Linked DNA regions of Homo sapiens: all the other regions are linked to region 4. Evidence: promoter capture Hi-C in 16 types of primary human blood cells and fetal thymus (Javierre and others, 2016). All regions are on one chromosome and are shown on one strand. Each heading gives the region's core, a stretch centred on a gene start or on the middle of the fragment in contact. The rest is flanking DNA. Distances are from core to core; before and after follow the strand shown. Region 1 overlaps SH3KBP1 (SH3 domain containing kinase binding protein 1). Region 2 has its middle 170 kb from the start of RPS6KA3. Region 3 has its middle 180 kb from the start of RPS6KA3. Region 4 holds the start of EIF1AX-AS1 (EIF1AX antisense RNA 1).

Evidence for each region. Contacts are between HindIII fragments. The CHiCAGO score rates a contact against its expected background, and 5 or more counts as called.
Region 1: a fragment that was not itself captured here is called in contact with the fragment with the promoter of EIF1AX-AS1 in region 4 in 2 of 17 cell types (total CD8 T cells and activated CD4 T cells); the score reaches 6.5 in total CD8 T cells.
Region 2: a fragment that was not itself captured here is called in contact with the fragment with the promoter of EIF1AX-AS1 in region 4 in 1 of 17 cell types (neutrophils); the score reaches 5.1 in neutrophils.
Region 3: a fragment that was not itself captured here is called in contact with the fragment with the promoter of EIF1AX-AS1 in region 4 in 1 of 17 cell types (non-activated CD4 T cells); the score reaches 5.8 in non-activated CD4 T cells.

The regions. Positions count from the first base shown.
Region 1 is chrX:19,674,054-19,680,721 of GRCh38, forward strand. The region is part of intron 6 of SH3KBP1 (SH3 domain containing kinase binding protein 1); the gene reads right to left. Among named protein-coding and RNA genes, the nearest start is that of MAP3K15, 160 kb to the left of the region's middle. The HindIII fragment of the contact is 3,655 bases long and covers 2,913-6,567 here.
Region 2 is chrX:20,428,579-20,435,355 of GRCh38, forward strand. No RefSeq gene overlaps it. Among named protein-coding and RNA genes, the nearest start is that of RPS6KA3, 170 kb to the left of the region's middle. The HindIII fragment of the contact is 4,839 bases long and covers 1,433-6,271 here.
Region 3 is chrX:20,447,729-20,454,774 of GRCh38, forward strand. It overlaps the pseudogene RN7SKP183. Among named protein-coding and RNA genes, the nearest start is that of RPS6KA3, 180 kb to the left of the region's middle. The HindIII fragment of the contact is 763 bases long and covers 2,001-2,763 here.
Region 4 is chrX:20,137,920-20,144,653 of GRCh38, forward strand. It overlaps EIF1AX-AS1 (EIF1AX antisense RNA 1), which reads left to right and starts at 2,049. Exons shown (of 2, transcript NR_046592.2): 1 at 2,049-2,316; 2 at 2,416-2,525. EIF1AX (eukaryotic translation initiation factor 1A X-linked) reads right to left here and starts at 3,919. Exons shown (of 7, transcript NM_001412.4): 1 at 3,706-3,919; 2 at 620-703. The coding sequence starts at 3,721. RefSeq lists enhancers at 3,161-3,320, 3,651-3,920, 3,981-4,030. The HindIII fragment of the contact is 4,524 bases long and covers 1,625-6,148 here.

The DNA of each region.
Region 1 (6,668 bases), core at 3,490-5,989, 460 kb before region 4:
TCTCATTGATGCTTTGGACATGCGTCTGCTAGTCTTTCCCCTTACATTATAATGACTTTTATACATACCCCCTTTCTCTCCAATGTAGGGACAATCCAAAGCATTAAATGAGAAACCTGTATATGACAGCTGATCCAAGGTGTGACTTAGGGTAGGAGGTGTTAACTCCATTCCGATGAACCACACCAGATCTGCTCCACCCCAAATAAATAACCTGTCAGGTTAAAAAAAAACCGCACTTACTATGCAAATACAACATCTAGACATGCCATTTAGCCAATCCCTTTCCAAATGGATTGCCACCCCTTTGTTCATTTACATACAAATCCCAGAGATACCACTGCTAATCCATAAAAGGCATTCAATAAAGCTTCACACTGCTGATCCATAAAAGGCATTCAATAAAGCTTCAGTGAATGAATGAATGAGTGAATTAATGAACAAATGGAAGAGTGAATCTTAGCTAGACCACAAGCAGATCCCAACCAGAATTGGATTAGCACAAAACAGTATCTTCATTCATCCAGTCCACAAATATTTACTGAGGGCCAACTATCATTTGACAACTATTTTCATAAACTGTAAATGGTGACTAACACAGACAAGGTCCCAAATTATGGCACTTACTTTCTAGTGGCTGACATTTAAGACTTGGTGATATGAAACAAACAGCTAACACAGATATAGCAAAATTCAATTGTACTTCTTGCAGTTTGAAATTTGCCATAATAAAAAATTAAAGAGGCCAGGCATGGTGGCTCATGCCTGTAATCCCAGCACTTTGGAAGGCTGAGGGAGGTGGATCACCGGAGGTCAGGAGTTCAAGACCAGCCTGGCCAACATGGTGAAACCCCGTCTCTACTAAAAATACAAAAATCAGCCGGGCGTGGTGGCCCACACCTATAATCCCAGCTACTCGGGAGGCTGAGGCAGAAGAATTGCTTGAACCCGGGAGGCAGAGGTTGCAGTGAGCCAAGATCATGCCACTGCACTCCAGCCTGGGTGACAGAGCAAGACCCTGCCTCAAATAAATAAATAAATAAATAAATAAATAAATAGAAATAACCCTGGAAAATGTACTGTCATTTATAGGTACTCTTTCTACTCTAATAACAATAAGGACAACAATAATAATAACTAACGTTAATCAAGTGATTACTATGTGCCAGGCACTTCTCTAACCATTACATGTTACTTAATCCTCACAACAACCCTCTGGGGTAGATTCTCTTGTTACTCTAATTTTACAGATGAGGAATCAAAAGCACTGAGTGGTTAAGTAACTTGTCCCAGGAAGAGGCAGAGTTGAAGTCTGAACCTGGGCTATCTGTCCTCCATGTTTAATAACCACTATACTTTTTTTTTTTTTTTTCCAGAGTCTCGCTCTGTCGCCCAGGCTGGAGTACAGTGGCGCAATCTCAGCTCATTGCAACCTCCACCTCCCGGGTTCAAGCGATTCTCCTGCCTCAGGCTTCCAAGTAGCTGGGACTACAGGCGCATGCTACCATGCCCAGCTAATTTTTTGAATTTTTAGTAGAGACTGGGTTTCACAGTGTTAGCCAGGATGGTCTCCATTTCCTGAACTCATGATCCACCTGCCTTGGCTGGGATTATAGGCGTGAGCCACCACACCCGGCCAACCACTATACTCTTAACACAATTTGAAAACCTTCTGGGAATATGATTCTTGGTGACAATCTGGCTGCAACTAAATATTTCTTAGAAAATACGCTAGGCTGAGTGTTTTAGAAAGTTCACATCAAACATATATAAAACAGAAAGCAGCACCCAACATGACAAAGAATAATCCTGTAATACTGGTTCACTGTTTCTGTTTCCCTTTCCCTACCAACTCCCCTCCTCCTTCCTTACTTTTTCCAGATCAGGAAACAAAACTGAGACACTCTGAGGAGAGAGAAGCCAAAGTCTGAAAATCCCAAACACTTCATTCAACCCAGGCAACCAGTGGGCATCTTAATACCATCTGCTCATTAAAAACCACAGGTTTTCCAACAACTCAAGAGACACAATCTTATTTTTCAACCAAAACGAGGGACAGCCAATACTCTAGGTCTCAGATAATCACAACAAGGTTTTGACCCTTGTGTTTAATTAGTCAAAGAGTATATATCTCATTAGCTTCTGGAGTTCTCTAGAGCTTATTTCTAGTCTTCAAAGGATTAGGACATAGATCTCTCATTTTTAAGGAACTAAGATCATCACCTTATTGACATGTTTTAATTTTATATGATTATGCAGCTTAATAAATTTTTACTAGAATGGATAAAAAGACTACCTGGGTGGGGGCTGGGTGGGAGGCGGGGATGGTTAATGCGTACATAAAAAATAGAAAGAATGAATAAGACCTACTGTTTGGTAGCACAACAGGATTACTATAGTCAATAATAATTGCACATTTTAAAATAACTTAAAGAGTATAATTTTATTGTTTATAACTCAACGGATAAATGCTTGAGGGGATGGATACCCCATTCTCCATGATGTGCTTATTTCACAGTGCATGCCTGTATCAAAACATCTCATGTGCCACATAAATACACCTATTATGTACCCACAAAAATTAAATACAAAAAAAAAGACTACCTGAGATACGTATGAAAATACTTAAATTCTCTTACTGTAATTTGGCTAATTAAAAACTTGATTAGTCACTCTCATTTATACACAATTTTAATTCTAATTATCTGTCCCAAGTAAAAGCTACAATGTGGATACCATAAAGGCATTAATTTGGGTGACTATAATTCTATAAATGAGATTCAAGATGACAAGAGTTGAAAAAGAGGCTGTTACAAACACAACGCCTTGTAGAAAGTGTAGACAGAATTCAAGAGAGAGATGTCAGAAGTCACTAACGGAAATCAGCTAAGACAGGAAGACCATGGGAAAGAAGCTTCTTGAAAGATTTCTCCGCAGGGAATCCAGTAAACAACCAACCTGGCAAACCATTCAGTTTAGAAATCTTTCCAGTAAGGCAAAAAAGACTACTTTTTCCAATAATTAAGTGGGCCAAGACTGGTAGTGCCTAAAGAGCTAGGACACGGAATGAGCTGGCACCAAAAACCCAGCATTATTCTATATAAAGCCATGTCAGGTTAGGTCCTGAGACTCACTCGAGTATCTGTAACTTACCTATCCATGTGTAATACCTGACACTCCTTTCCCTAAGTGGTTGGTCAGAAGTGATCATCTAAGTGACTCATAAAAAGGGAAGGAGTTTAGAAACAGAGAGTAGGGCCAGACTGGGGTCACAGGAAAATAGCCTGATGAAGAAATTCCCTCTCAGGTCCACAGGTGGGAGACAGAGGTACCACCTGTATTCATGAGAATACAGTCTCGTCTGGGCTTGCCTTCTTGCTCAGAGTCTTCCAGCCCAATCTCTAGGCTGATGACTCTGAAACCTACATTTACAGTTCTCTCCCAATCACCAGACTTATGTATCCATCTGCCTGCTGGATGTCTCTACTTGATACAGTCCCACAAGAACTTCCAAATCCAGCTAGTCTAACCCATGTCCTTCCTCCCCAAATATCTTCTCTCTCCACTGTTTTCTAATCAGAAAATAGTACTCAGCTGCTTAAGCCAGTTGCCGAAGGCACAATCTTCAAGTCCTCCCTCTTCTTTATCCCCCACATACTATCAAACTTGATTCTATCTTCAAAATATTTCCCCAAACCATCCATTTCTCTCCATGACAATAGTTCAAGCTGTTAATACATCCCTTACCTTGATGTCCCCTTCTATGTAAAGAAATTCAAATGGACACTCTCTGGACACAATTAGACACTCCTGCCGTTCTCTTCCCCTTTATGTTTCCTTCCCTGGGAGAGTGAAATTACTTATCTGATAGGTGAATTTAAGAAAAATATACTGGGCGTGCTCAGCTTAGCTCTTCTCTTTCCTCCTCTTGGAAGTCAGCCTTCTCTGCTGTTCCTCAAGGGGCAGGTCTTTCTATCTCACATTGGCCTGAGTTAGTCCAATGTTGCTGAGATTGTGTGGGCAAATCTGTCTAATTCTGGGAATCAGCTGGCAGGCCCATTTGCCTCTCACACTAATCTATACCTTCCAACTTTGCCTTCATCAGTAATGACACTGAAATAAAACGTATGCACAGAGAGATCACAAATCATAAGTGTTCAGCTTGAGAACATTTCACAAAATAAAACATAATCTATACAAATAGAGGGATATACCATGTTCATGAATTAGAAAGGTACCAATTGTCATCAAAAGTGTCTATAGATTCAATGCAATCTCAATCAAAATTCCAGGAGGTTTTTTTTTTTTTTTATGATGATGGGGGATTGACAAACTGATTCTAAAATTTAAATTAAAATGCAAAGGGCCAAGAACAGCTTAGGTAATCTTGAAGAGGAATACATAGGCAGCATAGAATGGGCACAAGGAAAAAAAGACCAACAGAACAGAGTCCAGAAATAGGCCCACTTATATATAGCCACTTAGGTTATGACTAAGGTGATAGGGCTGTGCAGTGTAGAAAGGATAATCTTTTCAATAAACAGTGCTGGGTCAACTGGATATCTATAATGAAAAAAAAATCAGCAAAATATTTTGATTATCCATTCACTCACTCATCTAATTAATTAACTGGTTTAGAACCTAGATTTGGAGTGGGGGGCTATTTATCAGGAAAGCCAGTATGTTTCTGTTACCTCTCTTCTGAATTTTACTCACCCTGTCTTCTGTAATCCACTCCCCACACTGCAGTTGGAATACTTTCGCTAAACCACCTATCTGATCGTGTCACTCTCTTGCTTAAAACACTTTGATAGTTTCCCATTGCTCTCAAGATCAAGTCCAACTCCCTAACGAGTCTCACAAGACTCTTCATGATCTGGGCCCTGCTTCTTTCCCCGCTTCCTGCTGGAGCCTCTACACATCATCTGTGCTATCTCTTTCCCTCTTCAGGGCATTTATAGATATTGCTCTCCCTACCTTAATAACTCTACGCCTACTGGACCCATGGTTTTCAGCCTAAACATCACTTCCTGTAGGAAGCTGGTACACACACACATGAACGGACACACACCTTCCAGCCTCCCTAACAACTTACCACTTCCTGCCATGCCTGAGGGCTCCTACAGCACAACACTGTGTTCTCAGCCTGATTATGGCATTTCCTATACTCTATTATTATTGTTTATTTACTTTTCTGTAGCTCCCTGAGGGCAGTGACCTGGTCTCCCTCACGACTGTATCCTCAGTACTGAGCATATTTAGTGAGCACTCAATACATGCTAGTTGAAATGAGTCATATTTAGAAAGTATTTTCAGGTATATATTTTTTAAGTCCTGTGAGGTAAGATAGGTAAAAAAAAGTATTCCCATTTTACAGATGGCCCAGCTGAGGCCAACTTCATCGAGGTCAATCAGCTAGGATGAAGGTACTATGGCCCTATGATTTTCTAAGGTGTAACCTGGTTCATCTATAGCCATATAGCATTTTCCATTATTTTGATACAGCACATACTTACATCTGAGCTTGGTTTAAATGGTACATGTTTCTCCAAGGTTCTTCCCCACCCCCCTTTAACCTTTTATCAAGGGAAATTTCCAACATACACAAAAATAGAGTGTGATGAACCCCCATGTATACACCATCCAGTTTCAACAAATACCAACTCATGATCAATGTCTCCTCTATGCCCCACTCTTTCATCTTCTGGACTATAGGAAGCAAGTCCCAGACATTAAATCAACTCAGCTGTAAATATTTCAGTTAAATGGTACATTCAGCAAATCATTCGGAGACATATCCACTTGGTGGTATTTAAAAGATTCATAAACGGAATCCTTCCTTATAGCCTGATAAGAGAAACAAGAATACCTACATGAACTATTTATCTATTCACAGTTGGTGGAGGGATGTTATACAATATCTCTCCTGGTGTATAATCTAATCATTAACTCTGGGTAGGGTAATATAGATTAAAATATAAGATAAGCACAAGATTATCTACTGACTCAGACAAGTGGATCTTAATATTTCACAAACTTGGCCAGGTATGGTGGCTCAAACCTGTAATCCCAGCACTTTGGGAGGCCAAGGTGGGCGGATCACTTGAGGTCAGGAGTTCAAGACCAGCCTGGTCAACGTGGTGAAACCCCGTCTCTACTAAAAATACAAAAAAAAATTAAGCTGGGTGTGGTGGTGTGCACCTGTAATCCCAGCTACTTAGGAGACTGAGGCATGAGAATCACTTGAACCTGGGAGGCAGAGGTTGCTGTGAGCCAAGATTGTGCCACTGCACTCCAGCCTAGGCAACAGAGCAAGACTCTTGTTTCAAAAAAAAAAAAAAAAAAAAAACTTCACAAACCTGAACGAAAAGTATAATATGATGCTCACAGCTGTTAATAATGGTCAGATTCCCTTTTTCCCTCATCCAAGTTATCAAGCCAGACATTTCAGAAGGCCAACTGTCGCAGCCTGAGCAGACCTACTTGAGCCTCACCTACTGAATGCTATCACGCAAGATCCAATTTACACTTCTAAAAATGAAAACAGTGAGCTCAATTCTCAAAGGAAGCTTTCTTCCTTAGACATAAATCTTAGACACATAACCATCTCAAAAGTGATGAAAACCAGGTTGTATGCTAATAAAACAGAATCACACTTATCGGCTTTT
Region 2 (6,777 bases), core at 2,602-5,101, 290 kb after region 4:
CAAATTGTTTTTCACCCTCCAAGCCTTCATTTCTTTATCTACAAAATGGGGTAGTAGGGGGGCAGGGGGGTGTGATGGCTCACGCCTCTAATCTCACCACTTTGGGAGGCTGAGGTGGGCAGATCACTTGAGCCCAGGAGTTTGAGACTAGCCTGGGCAACATGGTGAAACCCCATCTTTACAAAAAATACAAAAATTAGCCGAGTGTGGTGGTGTGTACTTGTGGTCCCAGCTACTCAGGAGGCTGAGGTGAGAGGATTGATTGCGCCTGGGAGGCAGAGGCTGCAGTAAGCAGTGATCACGCCACTGCCCTCCAGCCTGAGTGACAGAATGAGACCCTGTCTCAAAACAAAACCAAACAAACAAAAAATGAAAAACAAAATAGAGCAGGTGATATCTATTCCACAGGCTTCTTCTAAAGACAAAATGAGATTATATGCATGCTCTATGGCAAACTGTAAAGTATCTCACCAACCCAAGGATTCTAGGCTTCTCTAAGGTCTACTTGAGGTCCCCAACCCTTAGGGCTGGTCATGATGCCTCTCTGCAGTGTGTCCTCTTGAACAAAATCTCAGTTCTGGAGCCCTTTCTCCTCCTTCCTGCGATTCAATACTTATCTGGGGCTTGTCACAGTCTTCTGGCTCCAGCTCTCAGGTGAATCCTGGAAGTCATAACTGATAAATTTGGCCTTCTGTGTCCCCCTGTAAACCATCCTAGACTCTGTTTCCAGAGATATCATTCTGAAACAGATTTCTGATCTTTTTACTCTCATATTTAAAATAAAACAAAACAAAATTTTCATTAACTCCCCTTCGCTTACCATATCAAATTCAACCCTTCTTAGGTAGATAGTCCCTTTTCTAATCTTATCTGCCCCTCACCTGTAGCATCAAATTTCCTAGTCATCCAGTACACCCCTTGCTCTCTACTAAAACACTAAGAGAGCTGGGTGCCAATTCTGGCAGAGCTACTTATTAGCTGTGTGACCTTGGACATGTTACTTAAACTTTCTGTGCCTCAGTTTTCCTCCTTGGTAAACGGGGATAATAATAATACTTATTTTATGGGATTCCTTTTTAGGATTACATGAGGTAATGTGTATTAAGTTGTTAGTACTGTATGTGGCATTATTAAGTGGGCAAATAATGTCATTTTTTTTTTTACTATTCATACTCTTGTTACTATCAGACCCTCATAATTTCCTTTCTCTTCTCCAGCTCTTTCTTCATCCAGGGATGACTTTCATCTTAGCTTCATCACTTAAAATCTTACTCATTTGTTTTTAATGTAACTTGGACAAATTATTTTAGCGCTCTCAGCCTTTGTTTCTTCATCTATAAAATAGATAAAGTCATATATACCTCATAGGCCTTTTCTATGGGATAAATGAGATTATATGAAAGCTCTATGGCAAATTGCAAAGTATCTTGCAAGCTTTCTCTATAAGCATTCTTTGACTATTTTCTGACTACTTATCTTCACTTTGATATCCCCTGAAAATGATATCCTCATAGGATTTTTGTACTTTATTTTTGGTATTTGTCATATCACAGCCTTGCTATAATTTGCCTTGTTATTTATATACATATATAGATTGAATACTTCTTAAAGTTAAGATTGATGTCTACAGCTGATGCAGTACAAGGCAGCAAAGTAAGTTTGCTTAATTGAATTGAAACCCAAATTTATAATACAGCTTTAGTTGCTTTGGTCGATAACATGGGTTTGCAAATTTTATTTGCACATTTCTTTACCCCAGGAAAGGGATCTCCAAAGGTGGGATTTCAGCCTTCACTGAATAGGCTATTAGTATAGAACAGTGCTATTCCAAGGGTGGTTTCCAGACCAGCAGCAGTAGCATCAGCAACTGGGTGCCTGTTAGAGCTGCAGAACCTTGGGGTCCACACCAGTCCTACTGAATCATATTCTCCGGGGCTGGGTAGGAATCTGTGTTTTAACAACCTGCTAAATTCTTATGCATGCTAAAGTATCAGAAGCATTGGCATAGACAGTATGCATGAAGAAAATTTTAATTTTCTTCATTTGGCATTTTATAGAGGAGTGCCTATTTGTAACAGTCGTCTGTTTGATCAAAGGCAATTTATTTTAGCAAAATGTACCATGTTTTCAAATAAGCAAAATTTCTTAGAATTTAACAGAATTTCCTCTAGTTCCTCAACGTATGAGTAGTAATTTTTATTGGTTTATCATATCTATGGCAAATTTTAATTTCAAAAAGACAGAGAAAAAAGACTAAGAGGTAAAAGGGCACCGACTGGTACTTATTAATCAAGTCTATAAAATTGTGACTTGTTTTTGCAAGAATGTGAGACTGTTGATCGTATCCTTCTTAGAAGGGCTATCCCAGACTGTTAAATGGAAAAAAATAAAAACATCTTAAGTGCTCTCTTTTTACACTTTGAAGGCCTTATCCTTCCATACTGAAAAATGGGGATTCTATATTGCAAAGAGTAATGGGTCATGGCTGGAACCTGTTATAAATGTCGTCTTCCTGGCTGTGGGAATAAACACTTCAGAGCTTAGATAGTAATTATTGTCACATGAAAAGCAGGGAGGCATATTATAACTTCTCAACTGTCAGAAAGCCCTCTTCTTGCAAATGGCAGCACTTCACAGGGACTTTTACACTGTACCGTTTATAATTTTCATGGCTGACCTGTTATTTTAAAATACCAACAGGAAGATTAAGAATGTTGACAGGAAAGCAGTACCAACCAATGCCCTTTGGTCCTCCTAAACTTGAACCAGAAAGCTCCCTTGCCTTTTAAGGAAGATTATAATCTGCTAAAATAGAAAAAGGAATGACAAAAGGATTATGTCCTATAATAAGTTTAGGACAATCCAGAATTTTCCTTAAGTAATTGCAGACTGCAGTGTGATTGTTTACATGTGTTTGTTCTGACTGGGCAATTTGGGCATAGATTGTTTCTAGTACAAGAGTAGGACAAAGGATGGAAGAGATTTTTGCCTGAAAGTTTGATCCGTTCCTGAACTCTGGACTGTTTCAGGACCTCATCCTTTGGTAGATTGCCAATGAAATAAATCATACAAGACTTTTGTGAAACATGTATTACCTCAGGACATTGGGACTTCTAAGCAGATAGAACTAAATGGGATTAAGTAAATTAATACTTGTAAAGCACATTGCATAATGCCTGGCACAGGGCAACTGCTATATAAATGTTTGCTAAATGGGACATTCTACTCTGAACAAAGAGAAGTTCTATCTGTATTTCTAGGAATATTTTGGATTAGAAAATGAATGCATCTTGAAAGAAGGGTATCCTAGGGTTCAGGCTGTAGAACCCCACAATGCAGTTGGCACCAATTATCTTTTTAGCTGGTGACTGCCATATATGCCAAATTTCTACTTAGGATTCCTTGTGGCAATGCAGAGTTGCAGAAAGCACATTGCATTTGGGGTCTCATTCTAGACATAGCATGGCCACCTATTAGGTAAGAACCCTGGGCAAGTCCCTTCACTGCTCCCTGATCCTCATTTTCCTTAGATGTAGAGGCTCACATTAAATACGTCTAAGAACTTTATAACTTGAAAGCATTATTCACATGGATGGTTTTATCCTCAGATATTTACTTGTGGTATAACCGTGGAGTTGGGGCAGCTTACATATTTGGTGAGTCACCAGGGATGAATAGCTGAGTTGACATATTTTCCAGAGGAATGGCGGGATGCTACAGCAGGAATGTCAGGAAACTCCTTTTGAATGAAATGGCATGGTGGGGGAAGGAAGAGAATCCCTCAGTTGCTGCCACAAAAACTGTCAGAAATTAATGGAAAACATTTATTGTAATTGTCACAGCTTCTTGCCTATCTAGCATGCATTCTGCCTTATTTTCTAACAGAACTGTGCATTTTTTTTTTCAGCCATGTGTCCTGGGGGAAGCTAATCTCATCCACCTCTTCAGGGATGCCTGATTGACTTAAGTTTATTCCTATTGTCCTTAAATGGACACGTGATCAACTCTGGCCAATGAGACTGAAGAAAGCTGCTGAGGGGACTTCTGGGAAAAGTTTCTTCACCCCCAAGAGGGAGCCACAAAAAGAAATAGTCTCTCTTTTACTTGTGAGCTAAAACCAGCCATCCCAACTGACATGGGACTTCCCATAGATTATCTTATCAATCATCACAGCAGTCTTTGGGATAGGTGGTGTTGTCCCCACTACATGGAATGAGGAAACCAAGAGGTTAAGTTGCTCAGGGTCACCCAACATCTAGGTGGAAGATTTAGAACCCAAATTGATGTCTGTTCAACTTCAAAGGCTGTGCTCAAGTTGTTGTTGTGGTCTAAACTTTGCCTCAGATGAAAACTTGTCAAGAGGCAGTATATTTACTGTGCTGTGGCCATGAAGCTAGCAGAAACTGGGAGCTGGATGGTCTAAGGGTTTTTCTTTCTTTCTTCCTTTTTTTTTTTTTTTTTTTTGATGTTGGCTTTGCTGTCCAGCATTTGACCTTTCTGGACCTCCATTTCATCATGTGTAAGACAGTTGGACCAGATGTTTATTGAGGTTCTTTTTGGCTTTGAGATCTTTCGAAATGATGCTTGGTAAACAACAGGGAGGGATAAGAGAAAATGAAAAAACATACATTTGGTATCTTGAGAAAGGGCACCAGGCAGGATTTCCCCTTTCAGCCTGAGGTTCAGGGTTACAATGCATCAGTGATGTTGCTGAAGAACAGCAGAAAGTTCCGCATGGCATTCAATGGAACAAACCAAACCAGCTAAGATCCTTGCTACAATAAGAGGAACAGAGCTAAAAAGAGGCCAGATAAGGGATATTTTCTGTAGGATCCTCCTCATCAATCCAGCCAGCTTGATGGCTGAGTTCCTGAAGAGGGAGTTAGGCTCTGAGGAGCATTTGTGCTTTCACTTCCTTCCATTCCCAGAGTGCTTAAAACAGGGTGGGGCAGGGGTATATGAGGCATTTTTCAATACTTGACTTCTGTTTGCTTCCTATTGCTGGAAAAGTTTCTGTGATGTTATCACCAGAGATAGCAATAGTGCTTAGAGATTCTTCAGCCCTGAATCATGAAGGAAGGGCCCCTTGCAGGAGACACTGCAGCTCTCATTTGGGGCCAAGAAAGGAGTGGAGACTCTTCTAGATAGCATGAGTCCATTAAGCCCCTTTCTGATCGATGTTAGTTTTCTAGGGCTGCCATCGCAAAGTATCACAAACTGGGTGGCTGAAAACCACAGTTTATTGTCTCACAATTTTGAAGGCTACAAGTTAAAAATCAAGGTGTCAGCAAGGTCATGCTCCCTCTGAAACCTGTAGGGGAGAATCCTCCTTGGCTGCCTCCTAGCTTCTGGTGGTTGCTGGCAAACCTTGGCGTTCCTTGGCTTGTAGGTACATCACTCCAGTCTCCGCCTCCATCATCACATGGCCGTCTTCTCCCTGTGTATCTCTTCTCTTCTTATAAGGATACTAGTCATATTGAACTAAGTGTGCACATAAGGTTATATTCTGAGGAATTTGGGGCTAGGAATTCAATATATATTTTAGGGGGACATAATTCAACCATGCACCCTTCTAGGTAAACTTCTACCCATACCTAATTGAGTTCTTGCTATATGAGGCAGTGAGTTTGTCTATTTGGGGTTGCTTTTCAAAGCCAGTCTTTATGTTTGTTGAAAAATGATTCTATCTTCAAGAAATTGTATGGGATGAAGGAGGAGCTGGATGTTCCTGGAGCAGCAGCCAAAGGATGTGGTCCCCCAGATCAGAGCTTCTCAAATGTAGTAGGCACACAAATCCCTGAAGATCTTGTTAGAAAGCAGATTCTGATGCAGTAGGTCTAAGGTGAGACCTGAGATTCTGTCTTTCTGATGAGCTCCCAGGTGATGCTGATGCTGCTGGTTCCTGGAGTAGCAAGGGTCTAGATCTAGAATAGATGGTGGTCACATCTGTTTATGCAGAACAACTAAAATGTATCATTCTTGGGAAGTTTCAAAACTTCAGCTGTATACTAGCCAGAAAAATTCCCAGTAAACTAAGTCAAAATATCCCAAAATGGGAAAGAGCAATTCAATTATTTTTTTTCATGTGAGAATGAAGTCAGAAACATCTGTGTACATTCATCTGGATGGATACAGTGATTTCTAACTTCTGGACCACGCTGAATATTTGAGACGTGCATGTCAGAAAGATTGTTAGGAAGAGACCGACTTCAAGATTTAGGGCAACCAAGCAACTTTTACCTCGGTGTGCTAGGAAAACATCATTTGGAGAAGCTTCAGGCCAGTGTTGACAGGGACTGACTACCTCCTTCTTTGAGAAGTCAAACAGCCAGATTTCTTTGGGTTCAAATCCTGTTGGGGTCTCAGTCTCAGGGCCCACCCAGATGATCTCTGAAGACTGCAGCTGTGGCTTTGCTCCCACCCACACCCATAACCCTCCTTGCTTGCCACTTCCCTTAGCCCCTCAATGATTCCCAGATGCTCCCCATCCATGCTAGTCAGAGGCTGGACCAGCATGTAGAAGGACCAGGTGGCGGAGCCAGGGTGTATCCCTTGGAGGGTCCAGCCTCTGGATGAACTTCTGCAGAGCAGGTTCCAGAGAAGAGAAATCCTTTTGTGATGTCAGAGGCTGGCAATTTGGTTTTCCAAGTTCAAGAATGACCTGATTATTTCCAGCTCGAAAACACCCATGCACTATTGGATATCTTACAATACTTAGTTGGAAGTTTCTAGGAAGATAGTTGTCTGAGTGTTTGGCACGTTGCATCTTTTGGGTCA
Region 3 (7,046 bases), core at 1,132-3,631, 310 kb after region 4:
TTGTTATTCCTGGTAGAAGCCAAAATTTCGTCTTGTTAGAGCTATTGAAATAATGCAGTAGGATATTTTTCTTCTTTCTTGTTTCGGGAAGAAAGAACTGGCAATATTTTGCAAATTCACTTTGAAAAAGAACAGCATGTCCCAAGTTCACTGAGGCGACCTTCCTGAAGGTTAATATAAGTAGGACAAGATGGAACACCTTATAAAAGTGCACATGCAAACATACCGCTTAGGATAGGGGTGTCACAGGAGACTCTTTGTCCTCTCTTTGGGGTGTGCATTGCTGAACCTCTCTTCTACAATTTGTGGATGCCTAATGGGTAGTGCCCATTGGGAGCCTAGTGATGTTTACACTAGTTCTGGCCTTATGCACAGTGATTCTCACATACTCTCGGTGGTAGGGCCAATATTATTAGGAGAGACTGAACAGCAGAATGAACACCAGAGTGGGGATCAGGAGATCTAAATTCTCATCCTGGTTCTATACCAGTTATGTGATCATGAGCAAATCCTTAACCTGTCTGAGCCACTTATTATATTATCAATGATCCCTTACTGTGATGTGCTTATTGAAAGAGCACATAAACCTGCTACTTTATTTCCTATTTTCTAGGTTTTCTTTTGATCATTCATCTCATTCCAGGTACTTCCCCATTTCTGCACTCACCTTTGCTACAAAATTCCTTGAGAGAGTAATGTCTATAATTGGTGTCTTCACTTCCTCACTTGACAGTTTCTCTTGGGCTAGCCTTGTTCTCCTCTGCTCCACTGAAACCATCTCGTGGAGGTCATCAATAACTTTGATGTTGCCAAATCCATTGGTTAATAGGCCTCATCTTGTCATCTCAGCACCTTTGACTCAGGTGTTGACTCCTCCTTTCTTGAAACATCTTTTTGTCTGGTTTGTGTAACACCACACTCTCCTGGTTTTCTTTCTACCTCACTGGTGGTTTCCTCTTCTGTTGCTGGTTCTTCCTCCTCTTCCAAACCTTTTAGTGGCACACTGCTATAAAGATACTACCTGAGACTGGGTAATTTATAAACAAAGAAGCTTTAATCACAGTTCCTCATGGCTAAGGAAGCCTCAGGAAACTTACAATCATGATGGAAGGTGAAGGAGAAGCAGACACCTTCTTCACAAGGTGGCAGAGAGAGAGAGAGCGAGCAGGGGAAACTGCCACTTTGAAACCATCAGATCTTGTGAGGACTCCCTCACTATCATGAGAACAGCATGTAGAAAGCCGCCCCCATGATCCAATCACCTTCCACAAGGTCCCTCCCTTGACACGTGGGGATTGCAAGTTGAGATTAGATTTGGGTGGAAACACAGAGCCAAACCATATCAAGTGTCCTCAGAGCCCGGTCCTCAGACTTCATTTCTTTTCTAACTAATCTCCCACCCCAGGTGCTCTCAATCAGTCCCATGATTTTAAACACTATCTATGCTCATTATTGTCAAATGATATCTGCCTCCAGGCCTCTTTCCTGAACTCTGGATTCATATATCCAACCTCTTACCAATTACTTCTACTCAAACAGTCAAATTTGCACCTCAAATCTAACATCTCCAAAATGAACGCTCGATTTTCCCTCAGTTGCAGATGGTATTGTCGTTCCCAATTATTCACTGCTTTCCCTGTGAGAGAATTTGATACTCCTGCCCATTGCCATCTGACTTGCAGGCCGTCCCCATGGAATGAGTATATCTCCCTGTCTTGTTGTTGGCTGGTTTGCCTATGTGACTTTCTTTGCCTAAGGAAATGTGACATATACCATGTCTGAGTATCTCCTTTAAAACACATTGCATAGTTCTACAATTGCTCTTTTTCTTTTGCCACTAGACAGGAGTTGTTCCTTCAGCTGGGTTCTGGAATAAAAAAGACATGGAGCGTAACTGATGTTGTTCTGCAGCCAACATATACATGAGCAAGAAAGAAAAGTTTGTTGTTGTAAGCCACTCAGACTTTGGGTCATTTGTTATCACAGCATAACCTAATGAAAGCTTACTGACACACCTCACTTCAGCATCTATTGCTGAGTAAAAATCCGCCCCCCAAAACTTAGTGGTTTAACACAGCAACAATTATTTATTTGCTTACAATATTTAAAGTTGGGTAAGGCTTAAGCCAGGCGCTGTGGCTCATGCCTGTCATCCCAGCACTTTGGGAGGCCGAGGCCAGTGGATCACTTGAGGTCAGGAGTTTGAGACCAGCCTGGCCAACATGGCGAAACCCCATCTCTACCAAAAATACAAAACTTAGCCAAGCATGATGGTACATGCCTGTAGTCCCAGCTACTTGGAAGGCTGAGGCAGGAGAATCACTTGAACCCGGGAGGTGGAGGCTGCAGTGAGCTGAGATCACGCCACTGCATTCCAGCCTGGGGGACAGAGCCAAACTCCGTCCGTCTCTCTCTCTCTCTCTCTCTCTCTCTCTCCGTCCATCTCTCTCTGTCTCTCTCTCTCTCTATCTATCTATCTATCTATATATATATAATAAAGTTGGGTAGGGCTTTATGAAGACATCTCATCTTTGTTCTATATGGCATCAGCTAAGGTGGCTAATGCAGCTGGGGGTACTACTTCCAAGATGGCTCATTCATACACTGGCCACTTGATGCTGGCTATTGGCTGTGAGCTCAGCTAGGACTCTCGGCTAGAGTTCTCAATCATTCTCCTTGCAGCCCTCTTCGCTGGGTGCTTCAGCTTCCTTGCAGCATGATAACTAGGTTCTCAAGTATGAGCATTCTAGAGATAAAGGCAGAAGCTTCACGGCTTCTTATAACCTACTCTTGGAAGGCATACAGCCCTACTTCTGCCTCATTTCATGGGCCGAGTAAGTCAAAAGGCCAGCCTAGATTCAAAGGAAGGGCAAATAGACTCTACCTCTTCAATTGAAGAGGGCATGGCAAAGTCATATTACAAAAAAGCATGTAGTATATTGTTGTGGCCATCTTTGGAAACACAATCTGCCATAGGCCACCTACACCCCATCTTGAATATCCTGCAGGCTTTTTCATCTAAGCCAGGTGTAGGCAAACTACCTGTTTTTGTAAATAAAGTTTTATTCGAACACGGCCATGCCCATCCATTTGCTTTTTATCTGTGGCTGTTTTTGTACTACAATAGCAGAGTTGAGTAGTTACAGTAGAGATTGTGTGGGCTGTAAAGTCAAAGATACTTACCATCTGGCCTTTTACAGAAAAGTCGGCTGACGCCTGATCTAAGTTAATGGGACTATAATCCACTCAACTATTCAGGTCACAAACTGGAGTCACCCCTGATTACTCTCTTTCTCTCATACTTCTAAATCCAATTTTTCGGGAATCCTCTCAGCTCTCTCTTAGAAAAATATTTGAATTCTGATGTCTTCTCACCATAATCCACTGGTCCAAGCTACCATCATCTCTCTGCTTTTCATTATCTTCTCTTGCCTGGACCATTATCCCTGCTTTTACTTTTGCTTTGTTTACAGTCTTTTCTCAACACAGTAGGTGGGCTGATCCTTTACAAACAGTTCGATTATGTCACTGCCTTGTCTAAAATCTACAAAGGTTTCATGTAGTATTTTTTTTTTTTTTGAGACGGAGTCTCGCTCTGTCGCCCAGGCTGGAGTGCAGTGGTGCGATCTTGGCTCACTGCAAGCTCTGCCTCCCGGGTTCACACCATTCTCCTGCCTCAGCCTCCTGAGTAGCTGGGACTACAGGTGTCTGCCACCGCGCCGGGCTAATTTTTTGTATTTTTAGTAGAAACGGGGTTTCACCATGTTAACCAGGGTGGTCTCAATCTCCTGACCCTGTGATCCGCCCACCTCGGCCTCCCAAAGTGCTGGGATTACAGGTGTGAGCCACCGCACCCGGCCTGGTTTCACGTAGTATTTTAAATGAAATTGAGAACTCATATCATGGCCTCCAAGTCCCTATGTAATCTCCCCTGCCCGCAGCCTGCCCATCCCCACTATGTGACTGACTTCATCTCCTTCCACTCTTCCCTTCCTTCTCCCCGCCTCAGCCACACTGGCCTCCCTGCTGCTTAACTCTCCAAATATGTTCTTGCCTCAGAATCTTGGCACTTGCTGCTCCATCTACCCAGAATATTCTTGTCCTGAGTATCCATGGGCTGACTCCTTCATTGCATTCAGGTATCTGCTTGAGTGGCATCTTGGAGAAGACTCCCTTGACTGCTCTATCTAAAATAGCACCCCTGTCCCCCTCTTTGCTTACCCTGCTTTTTCTTCAGAGCAATTATCTATTGGTTATTGTCTAATTCCCTTGTAAGAATGCAACTCTAGATACAGTATCCCAAGTACAGTGTTCAATAAATGTTTGTCTAGTGAATTTGTTGAGTGAATGGGCCTCAGTTTCCTCATGTGTAAAATGAAGGAGAGGGCCATCTGGCTGGAGCATCTGTTACTGAACTGGTTGCCAGGATTGTTTCCACTGATCTGACTGGCTAAGTGGGTGTTCCTTTTCTCCTTATATCCATCCCTCCCTAAGCCTACGGGTGCAATGGAGTCTTCCTTTTCTTTGGGCAAGGTTATCTGAGTCCTGATGCTTGCTTGCTGGAACCTCAAAACAAGTTCTTTTCTCACGAGGGACCACCACAATAATGCCTTTTCTGCCTCTTTTGTAAGTATTGTGAAAATCAAATGGAATAATAGATTTGGAACTGTAAACCTCTATGTAAGTGAAAAGAAAGATAATGTAAAATGGATAAGGACTGATTCTAGCATCACCCACAATCCCCTCTTCTCCCTAGGGCCTGCCCACTCCCCTGACCTAGGGACCGATTTAACAGTGGATGTGAGACACAGAAAAGAAGCTGACAACAAAATAGAGCAGCCTTGGGAACTTCAGGTCAATAAGATATGTATTAAATTCGTAAAGAAAAAATTAAAGAAGGAAACCCAAATGTTTCTAGCTTCAGGATGTGACTAATCTCTCTACCTTACCGGGCTCTAGAACTGAAACAAAAAAAACCTCCCTCCCAGAACAAAACAAAACAAAAACAAAACCACTTTCATCAGTTTAGGATTCTTACAAAAGAAGTTTACTTGTAATTTACACACTTAAATAGTAGTAACTCAAAAGCCCAGAATTCTCACACGATATTTAGATTATTGGAACACCACATTCACATCTCAGTTGTTAATCACTCAAAGGTAACTTTGACTTGCTCCTTAGCTGTCTTTTTCCAGATGTACCTCATGGTAATGATGAAGGCTTGTCTCTGGGTTTTGCAGGTGAGCCAAAGAGGCAACTGAGTAAAAATATTGGTGCATTTTCAGCCGAGCTTTCTGGTTTTCAGCTGGTGCAGGCAGCTAATAATCATTTAACTCAGGCATTTTTCACCTAGGCAACAGTAATGTATGTTTTGGATCATATTTTTTGGCTTTATTTCTGTCCTAATGAGAATAAAAGACTGAGTATTTTCAGTATCTAATGGAATGGAGCTGACTGAAAGCTATTTTGGGTTCACTTCTGACGTGAGCTGTATTCAGAAACAATGAAGAGACACTAATAATTGGGAATGAAAATGCCACTTGTTTGATAGACAGGGTAACTGTGAAAAGATCAAGAGTTGTGGCCTTCCACAAGGTTTTGGGTCCTCAGTTTTTTGAGGTCTTGGTTTTTGTTGCTTTCTCTCTAGATACAAATCCATATGAGGAAGGATTGTGGGAAACACATCACTGAAAAATTCCGGTCACAATATGATTCTATCTTCATCTTGAACTTCATAGCATGGTGATGAAGCGCATGAGCTGTGGAATCAGACAGATGCATGAAATTCAGCTCTGCCACTTTATGAATTTATATAAGGCACTGAATTTCCCTAAGCTTCAGTTTTCTAATCTGTAGAATGGGGGACATTTAGAATTATCTAACTTATAGGATAATTTGCAGATTAAATTAGATCATTGCATGTAAAACACTTAGTCCAGTGCCTTGTACATAGTAATCACTTGATAAATGTGAACTAATACCTATCGTAATATTATTCATTTTAAATTTAGAATAAGAGGTTTGTCCAGTATATTAGTTTCCTGGGGCTGCTGTAACGAAGTGCCACAAACTTGGTGGCTTAAAGCAACAGAAATGTATTCCCACAGTTCTGGAGGCTAGAAGTCCCAAATCAAGATGTTAGCAGAGCTCTGAGGGCTCTAGGGGAGGATCCTTTCTTGCCTCTTCCTAGTTTCTGGCAGTTGCTGGCAATTCTTAAGTGTTCCTTGGCTTATAAAGGCATCATTTGAATCTCTGCCTCCATCATTCCATGGGGTTCTCTCTGTGTGTGTCTGTGTCTAAATTCCCCTCTTCCTCTAAGGACCCCAGTCACTGGATTAGGGCCCAACCTGCTCCACTACGACCTCATCTTAACTTGATTACATCTGTAATTACTCTATTTCCAAATAAGGTCACATTCTGAGGCTCTGGGTGAACATGAATTTTAGGACACTGTTTAAACCAGTACACCCCGTATGGAAGGTGTTAAGTGCTGGAAAAGATTAAGAGTGGACTTGTCGAGCTCACTACGAGCTAAGCAGAACTGGGCAGGAAGGGAAGGGATGTGACAGAAATGAGTCACAGAGGGCACTGTCTCCCTCACCCCCAGAAGAATTGTGCATATTTAATGGGTGACTGCTTTATTCCACTGAGTGCAATACCACCTCTTATGACCAGACTCCCCTGCTCAACTCTGGAACTGAAAATTGGGAGCAGCTAGAGGTTGAGTCCTGTGGGCTCAGAGGCTAGGTCCCAATCCATTTTGGGGTGGAATAAAGTATATCAGTGCACTGAGGGATGGGGGACAGAAGCAATTGACATTCCTGTCACATTCTTCAGTGGTTTCCCATATAGGAAGACACATGCTTAACAGCACTTCTCAAACTACAGTGTGCAGAAGAGTCACCTGGGTATCTTGTTTAAATGTAGATTCTGATTCAGTAGGTCTGGGGTGGGGGTTGAGACTTTGCATTTTTAACAAGCCCCTGATGATGCTGTTGTTGCTGGACCATGGACCACACTTAATTCTAGGCTTGGCTTATGCTGCA
Region 4 (6,734 bases), core at 799-3,298:
ATGGTGGGAGAATCACTTGAGCCCAGGAGTTCGAGAATAGCCAGGGCAACATATGAAGACCTCATCTCTATACAGTTTTTTTTTTTTTTTTTTTTTTTTTTTTGAGACAGAGTCTCCCTCTGTCACCCAGGCTGGAGTGCAGTGGTGTGATCTCGGCTCACTGCAACCTCCGCCTCCCAGGTTCAAACAATTCTCCTGCCTCAGCCTCCTGAGTAGCTGGGATTACAGGCACGTGCCACCACACCCAGCTAATTTTTGTAATTTTAGTAGAGACGGGGTTTCATCATGTTGGTCAGGCTGGTCTCGAACTCCTGACCTCGTGATCCGCCCGCCTTGGCCTCCCAAAGTGCTGGGATTACAGACGTGAGCCACTGCGCCCAGCCTAAAAAAATTTTTAAAATTAGCCAGACGTGGTGGTGTGTGCCTGTAGTCCCAAATACTCGGGAGGCTGAAGTGGAAGGACTGCTTCAGCCCAGGAGGTCATGGCTGCAGTGGGCTGTAATCGTGCCACCACACTTCACCCTGGGCGATGGGCAAGACGCTGTCTCAAAAAAATAAAGTCCCCAGCTAAAAAAGAAAGGATGTTATTTTAAAAAGCGTAATTTATGAAAACACTTACCCTGACCATCCTCTTTGAATACCAGTTCTCTTTTTTCAGATTCATTCTCATTCTTACCCCTGCGTCTGTTTTTACCTCCTTTACCTGATGGTTTAAAAAAAAGAAAAGGAGGTAAATGACATTAATTATCTGTAAAACAGTATGAAATAAAATGAAATTAAGGCTTATAAAACCATTTTTTAAAAGATCACTTAAATTAAAAAATTCATCTATTTTAGCTACACAATCATATTAAATTTACAATCTCCAATCCCAACATTAACACATTATCACCTCCCTACCCTTCTTGGAATTTCCTTTGGGGATTTTTCTGACATAAAATACACATAAATAGCAGATATTATGTTAAAAAATATAGAAAAACATTTCACTTTAGCACCCATCCTTTTGAAATAAAAATGCAATTCTATACATATTCTTCTAAGCGGAAATCTTGGGTGTCTTCTAAAGCCAGGCCCTATGCAAGGAACCCGATACTTTCAAAATTAAGTGAAGACAGTGTCTGGACAGAGAACTGTGGTTTTCAAACTTTTGGTAGCAGAGTACCATAAATATTGAAATCTCACTGGGTGCAGTGGTGTGCGCCTAGGGTCTCAGCTACTCAGGAGGCTCAGGTGGGAGGATCACTTGAGCAAGCCCAGGAGGTTCCAGGCTAGCCTGGGCAACATAGCGAGACACTGTCTCTTAAAAAATAAAGAAGATCTGTTCGGTACCCAATTTACTTTCTTTTATAATGCTGGTCCCTACTCAACATCCCTGTTTCTATTATATGACCCCAGTGACCATGCTCTTAACCACTATGCAATAATTCTGCCCATTTACTTGTCACAATCACCCCATGAGGTCATAACATTCATTTATTCCCAGTTTACCCATGAGTTCCCTGAAGCTCAGAGAAGTTAAGTAAGTCGCTTAGCTTCAGTGAGTAAATCAGTTCACTGATTACAGTCAGTAAGCTGGGGTGACCAAAGTCACAATGTTTTTTTTGCCCCTAGCCCCCACATAAGCTTACCTCTCCACAGCATTTTGCTCCCATTCCAGAAAGGAAACCACATTGGCAGCCATTTCCAAAAGGCAGGAAAAAGGCTGTAAGTGGTAATGACCCTAAGAGACTCATGGGAAGAGCTTGGAAGCAGCAAAAAAAAATGGAGGACACTTAAATTAGGTCATGAAAAGTACCATTCCTCTAAGTAAGATAACTAAGAACTGATTGGTTTCAGACAGTACAGGAATGATAAACACCAAACTCAGCCTGGTGATTACCTCCAAAAAGAGAGTAAAAGGTGATTAGGGCTTTACCTCAATCTGCGCTGTAATTCTTAAATTCAGAGTAATGGGTTCCCAGGTATATCATGTTAGCTGTATTTTTTGTATGCCTCAAATGTTATTTAAGAAAAGACTAATTACTTGTCAATTTACCAGAATTAACCATACCCGGATCACTCCCCTTTGTATTTTATTGCCATGTAATGGGATGTTCTTTAAATTCTCTGTTGAATGAATGAGACTAGGTCTGAGTGTACAACAATTAAAGTGACATCAACATTCTTTAAACCAGAGTTGTTTTGGAGAAATTCCCAGAGAGGCTCTTTCTTAAGACATGAGGCTAGGGAACTAGATGTGATTTAGTGTAGAAGTCCTATCCCCTTGGAACCAAAGCAGAACCTATTATTCACTAAGGGTGGAGTCGACAGGAGGTAGGTGACTTAAACCAACAAATATTTATTAAGCATCTACTAATTGTCAAGTGCTGGCAATCCAATGAGATTAAGACAGATACTATTCCTGCCTTGTAGAGCTTACAGCCTGGTGGAAGAATTGGAAATCTTATTACTAGAAATAAAGGTGAGAATAAGATGGAAGTGATCCCCTTACCACCTCAGAGAGAATAAAGGATTATACAGAAGAAAACTGTAAGACTTTAAAATTTTTTGTTTATAACTCCATCTTTTCCAAAATAATGAGCAGTGACTGCACCAACTTGTGCACAGAACACCTCGACCAAGTACCCTAAGGGATAAAGTAATAAGTGACAGCTACAAAGAGGAAATGTGGTAGAATCCCTGGAGCCAGCTGTCAAGTAGAAAAGAGAGCAGAAGTAGGCCTGTGTCAGGGGAGGGTTTCCTCTAGAATGAATAATCAAAGGAGACTACTTACGGACTATGAAGTATGCTCCTCTCCTGTAGGAAAATACAGTATTTTCCCTATATTTACTTGCACAATTTTCTTCAAGTTATACGGCTATTAAAAATGACAGGAACACTGTAAATCTATAAAAGTAATTTCTTTAGGAGTGTTCTGTTTTTTGTTTTTGTTTTTTTTTTTTTAAGATTAGGCCTTCCGTTTTGGAAATCCCAAATAAAGTTATCCTCAAGTCTGATCATTTGTGAACGCTTAGCCTCAGAATGGAGGACACTTAAATTAGGTCTTTATTCTCACAACATATGCATCATCTGAAGCAAAAGTAGAAAACTTGGCTCAATATGGAATAAGTCTTCAGCAAACAAACATAAGCTATATCCTGTAAAGGGATGGAGAGAGTAAATCTCTAGAGGTGAGCCTTAGAAATGTATCAAGGTTTCACCCACTGTTCACAAGGGACAGCGAGTAGCCTCAACAATACTGAACTGTCCATAAAGAAACCCATGCAGGAGTACCTGGTGCTCACGAATGCAGACAGCACTCTGAAAGTTCAGAACGGCTTCCAGGGATTATAACCCCTCATGCCCGGGAAGGCCAAAGGGGCCTATCTACTAAACCTAGGCCGCCCCGGGGAAGGTTCCCGCCACCGTCCCCACCGAGCAGCGGTCAGTCTGGCGCGAATCAGGAGCAAAAGCCCACATTCTCCCGCAGGAGGCCCTACAAAAATGGCGCCGGCTCCACCCCAATGTGACCAAACTGGGCAACAGGAGTTAACTTCCCAGCTCCTCTCCCGAGCTCAGAGTCGCGTGTGGGGCGCCCAGCCGCGGGCAGGCAGGGCGGGAAGGAAAAAGGGTCACTGCGGCCTGGGTGACCTGCAATCTACGGGCAGGACCTGGGAGACCCGGCCGAGCAGAGCCGTGGTCCGGGGGTCCGGGCGGCATTACCTTTATTCTTGGGCATGGCGGTGGCGGCGACCTCGCGGCGTCTCTGACTTCTTTCCGGGTAGCGGCGACCGCGGCGGCTGCTGCTCCGAGGGGCGACACGAGGGAGCGCGCGGGACCAAGTAGGTGCTGGAGGCCAGGCAACGTGCGCGGGAGAGGCTGGCGACCCAGCTCTTCAGAGATCCGCCTGCGTCCACGCTCGGCGGCAGCAAATGGCGCCGCGACTCTTTGCGTCGCTTTTCCCCGCCTCCCGTCGCCGGCTGGGCCCGCCCCCAGGCTTTATGACGCAGGCGTGGCCGACTGACTCCTATTGTTAGAGCCGAGGGAGACGCGTTGTGGGAGGGTGCGCAGCAAGCCAGAGAGGACGCGAGGGGCAGGGCCTCAAGCAGGGAAAAGGCGGAGTCAGGGAGGGAGGGGGAGAGACTCTGCGTCATAGAAAAGGGCGGGTTGAGGTGGCGCTTGCTGCTGGTTAAGACCAGACCTCTGCTGCTTTGTAGCAAACGCGCGTCTCCCGGTTTCACAAGTGGCTGACTCGTTAACCTCGTGGTTAGCTCAGTTTTTAAAAAATATGTATATTTTTATTTTTATTTTATTTTTTGAGACGGAGTCTTGCTCTAGAGTCGCCCAGGCTGGAGTGCAGTGGCGCGATCTCGGCTCACTGCAACCTCTGCCGCCCGGGTTCAAGCGATTCTCCTGCCTCGGCCTCCGGAGTAGCCGGGATTACAGGCACGTGCCGCCACGCCCGTCTAATTTTTGTGTTTTTAGTAGAGACGGGGTTTCAGCATCTTGGCTAGGCTGGTCTTGAACTCCTGACCACGTGATCCATCCGTCTCGGCCTCCCAAAGTGCTGGGATTACAGGCGTGAGCCACCGCGCCCGGCCAATATTTTAATTTTTTTATTAAGATGGAGTCTTGCTCTATCGCCCAGGCTGGAGTGCAGTGGCGCGATCACGGCTCACTACAACCTCCGCCTCCCGGGCTCAAGCGATTCTCCTGCCTCAGCCTCCCGAGTAGCTGGGATTACAGGCATGTGCCACCATGCCCAGGTAATTTTAGTACTTTTAGTTGAGACGGGGTTTCACCATGTTGGCCAGGCTGGTCTCGAACTCGTGACCTCAACTCGCGCCCACCTCGGCCTCCCAAAGTGCTGGGATTACAGGCGTCAGCCACCGTGCCCAGCCGGTTAGCTCATAACGCAGTCCTTTCACTCGCCCAGCCGGGTTGGGAGCCTGATGGGAAGGGCAAGGCTTTCCTGGCATCCATTACCAAAGCATAATATTTGCATGGCACTTGTTATTACTCTTTAAGTCTGTCTGTCCTACCTCACTGTAAACCTTACCGGGCAGAGACCATGTTTGTTGCTTACCATTACCCCCACTTAGCTGAATGTCTGGCACATAATAGGTGTTCAATACACACAGAAAGGAAGGGAGGGAGGGGAGAAAAGACTTAAGCTCAATGTTAATGGGCTGAATTGTGTCCCCCCCAAAATTCGTATGTTCACGTTCTAATCCCCAGTAACTCAATGTGACTGTATTTGGACATAAGTTCTTCAAAGACGTGATTAAATTGAAATGAGGTCATTAGTGTGGACCCTTATCTGACTGGTGTCCTTACAAGAAGATATTATTAGGCCACAGGCATAGAGGGAGAACACCACGTGAACAAGAAGGTAGCCATCTATAAGCCCAGGAGAGAGGCCAACCCTGTTGACGCTTGATTTTAGACTTTCAGTCTCCAGAACAATGAGAAAATAAATTTCTGTTGTTTAAGCCACTCAGTACGTGGTACTTTGTTATGACAGTCCTAGCAAACTAATACAGCTGGCTAATGCTGGGCTGTACTCTACAAGATTTATTTCTAAGTAAACTTATTTTGACTAAACCAAGTAAACTTATTTTAAATAAATCACCTTTCCACAAACACCAGGGTTTGCACATACTTAGAAGACAGAAATAAAGTATCATCATCTAATATAGTGGTTCTTTTCTGTGAACATTTGGCAGCGTCAACCAGAAATGTTTCTGGTTGTCATAACTTGAGGAGGGGGGCAGTGATGCTGGCATCTAGTGGGCAGAGGCCAGGGATGCGGCTAAACATCCTACAGTGCACAGTACAATCTCCCCTCCCCCATACAAGCAAACAATTATCCAGCCCAAAACATCAGCAGAGCTGATATTGAGAAACCCAATGACAGATGCACTTCTTAGAGTGAAATTGAAAGATAATGGGGGACTCAAAGTTCTGGGTTTCTCTTTCTATCTGCAATATTTTTCAATTTACATAATTGAGGATGAAAGGATTTTTTATGAAATTTATTTAAATTTTGCTCCAAGGTCAAATAATTATGAACTTGAGCTTTGGAGTTAGAGAGGCCTGGGTTCAAATTCAAGCTCTGCAGTAACTTATTACTCTATTTTCTTGGGCAAGTTTTAATCTCTTTACAAGCTTCCGTTTTCTCATCTGTAAATTGGATGTAGGAATAGTACTAACCGGCCAGGCGCAGTGGCTCACACCTATAATCCCAGCACTTTGGGAGGCCGAAGTGGGCGAATCACCTGAGGTCAGGAGTTCGAGACCAGCCTGGCCAAAATGGTGAAACCCCATCTCTACTCAAAAATTCAAAAATTAGCCGGGTATGGTGGCAGGCGCCTATAGTCCCAGCCACTTGGGAGACTGAGGCAGGAGAATCACTTGAACCCAGGAGGCGGAGGTTGCAGTGAGCCAAGATCGCGCCACTGCACTCCAGCCTGGGCAACAAGAGTGAAACTCCATCTCCAACAAACAAACGAACAAAAAAAAAGAAAAAAAAAAGAATAGTACTTACATTAGGTTGTTGCAGGAATTAAATTGATATAATGCATTCAATTAGCAATTGTGCCTAGTACATGGTAAGTAGTTAGACTCTAAGAGTCCGGAACTCTAAATGTTTAAAAATAAAAAGTTTCTGTCAATTACCCAGTATAAAACCTCAAAGAGGAAAAAAAAATATCAGGCTTCATTTCTCTACTGTAGGATGGTTCCCCCATCTG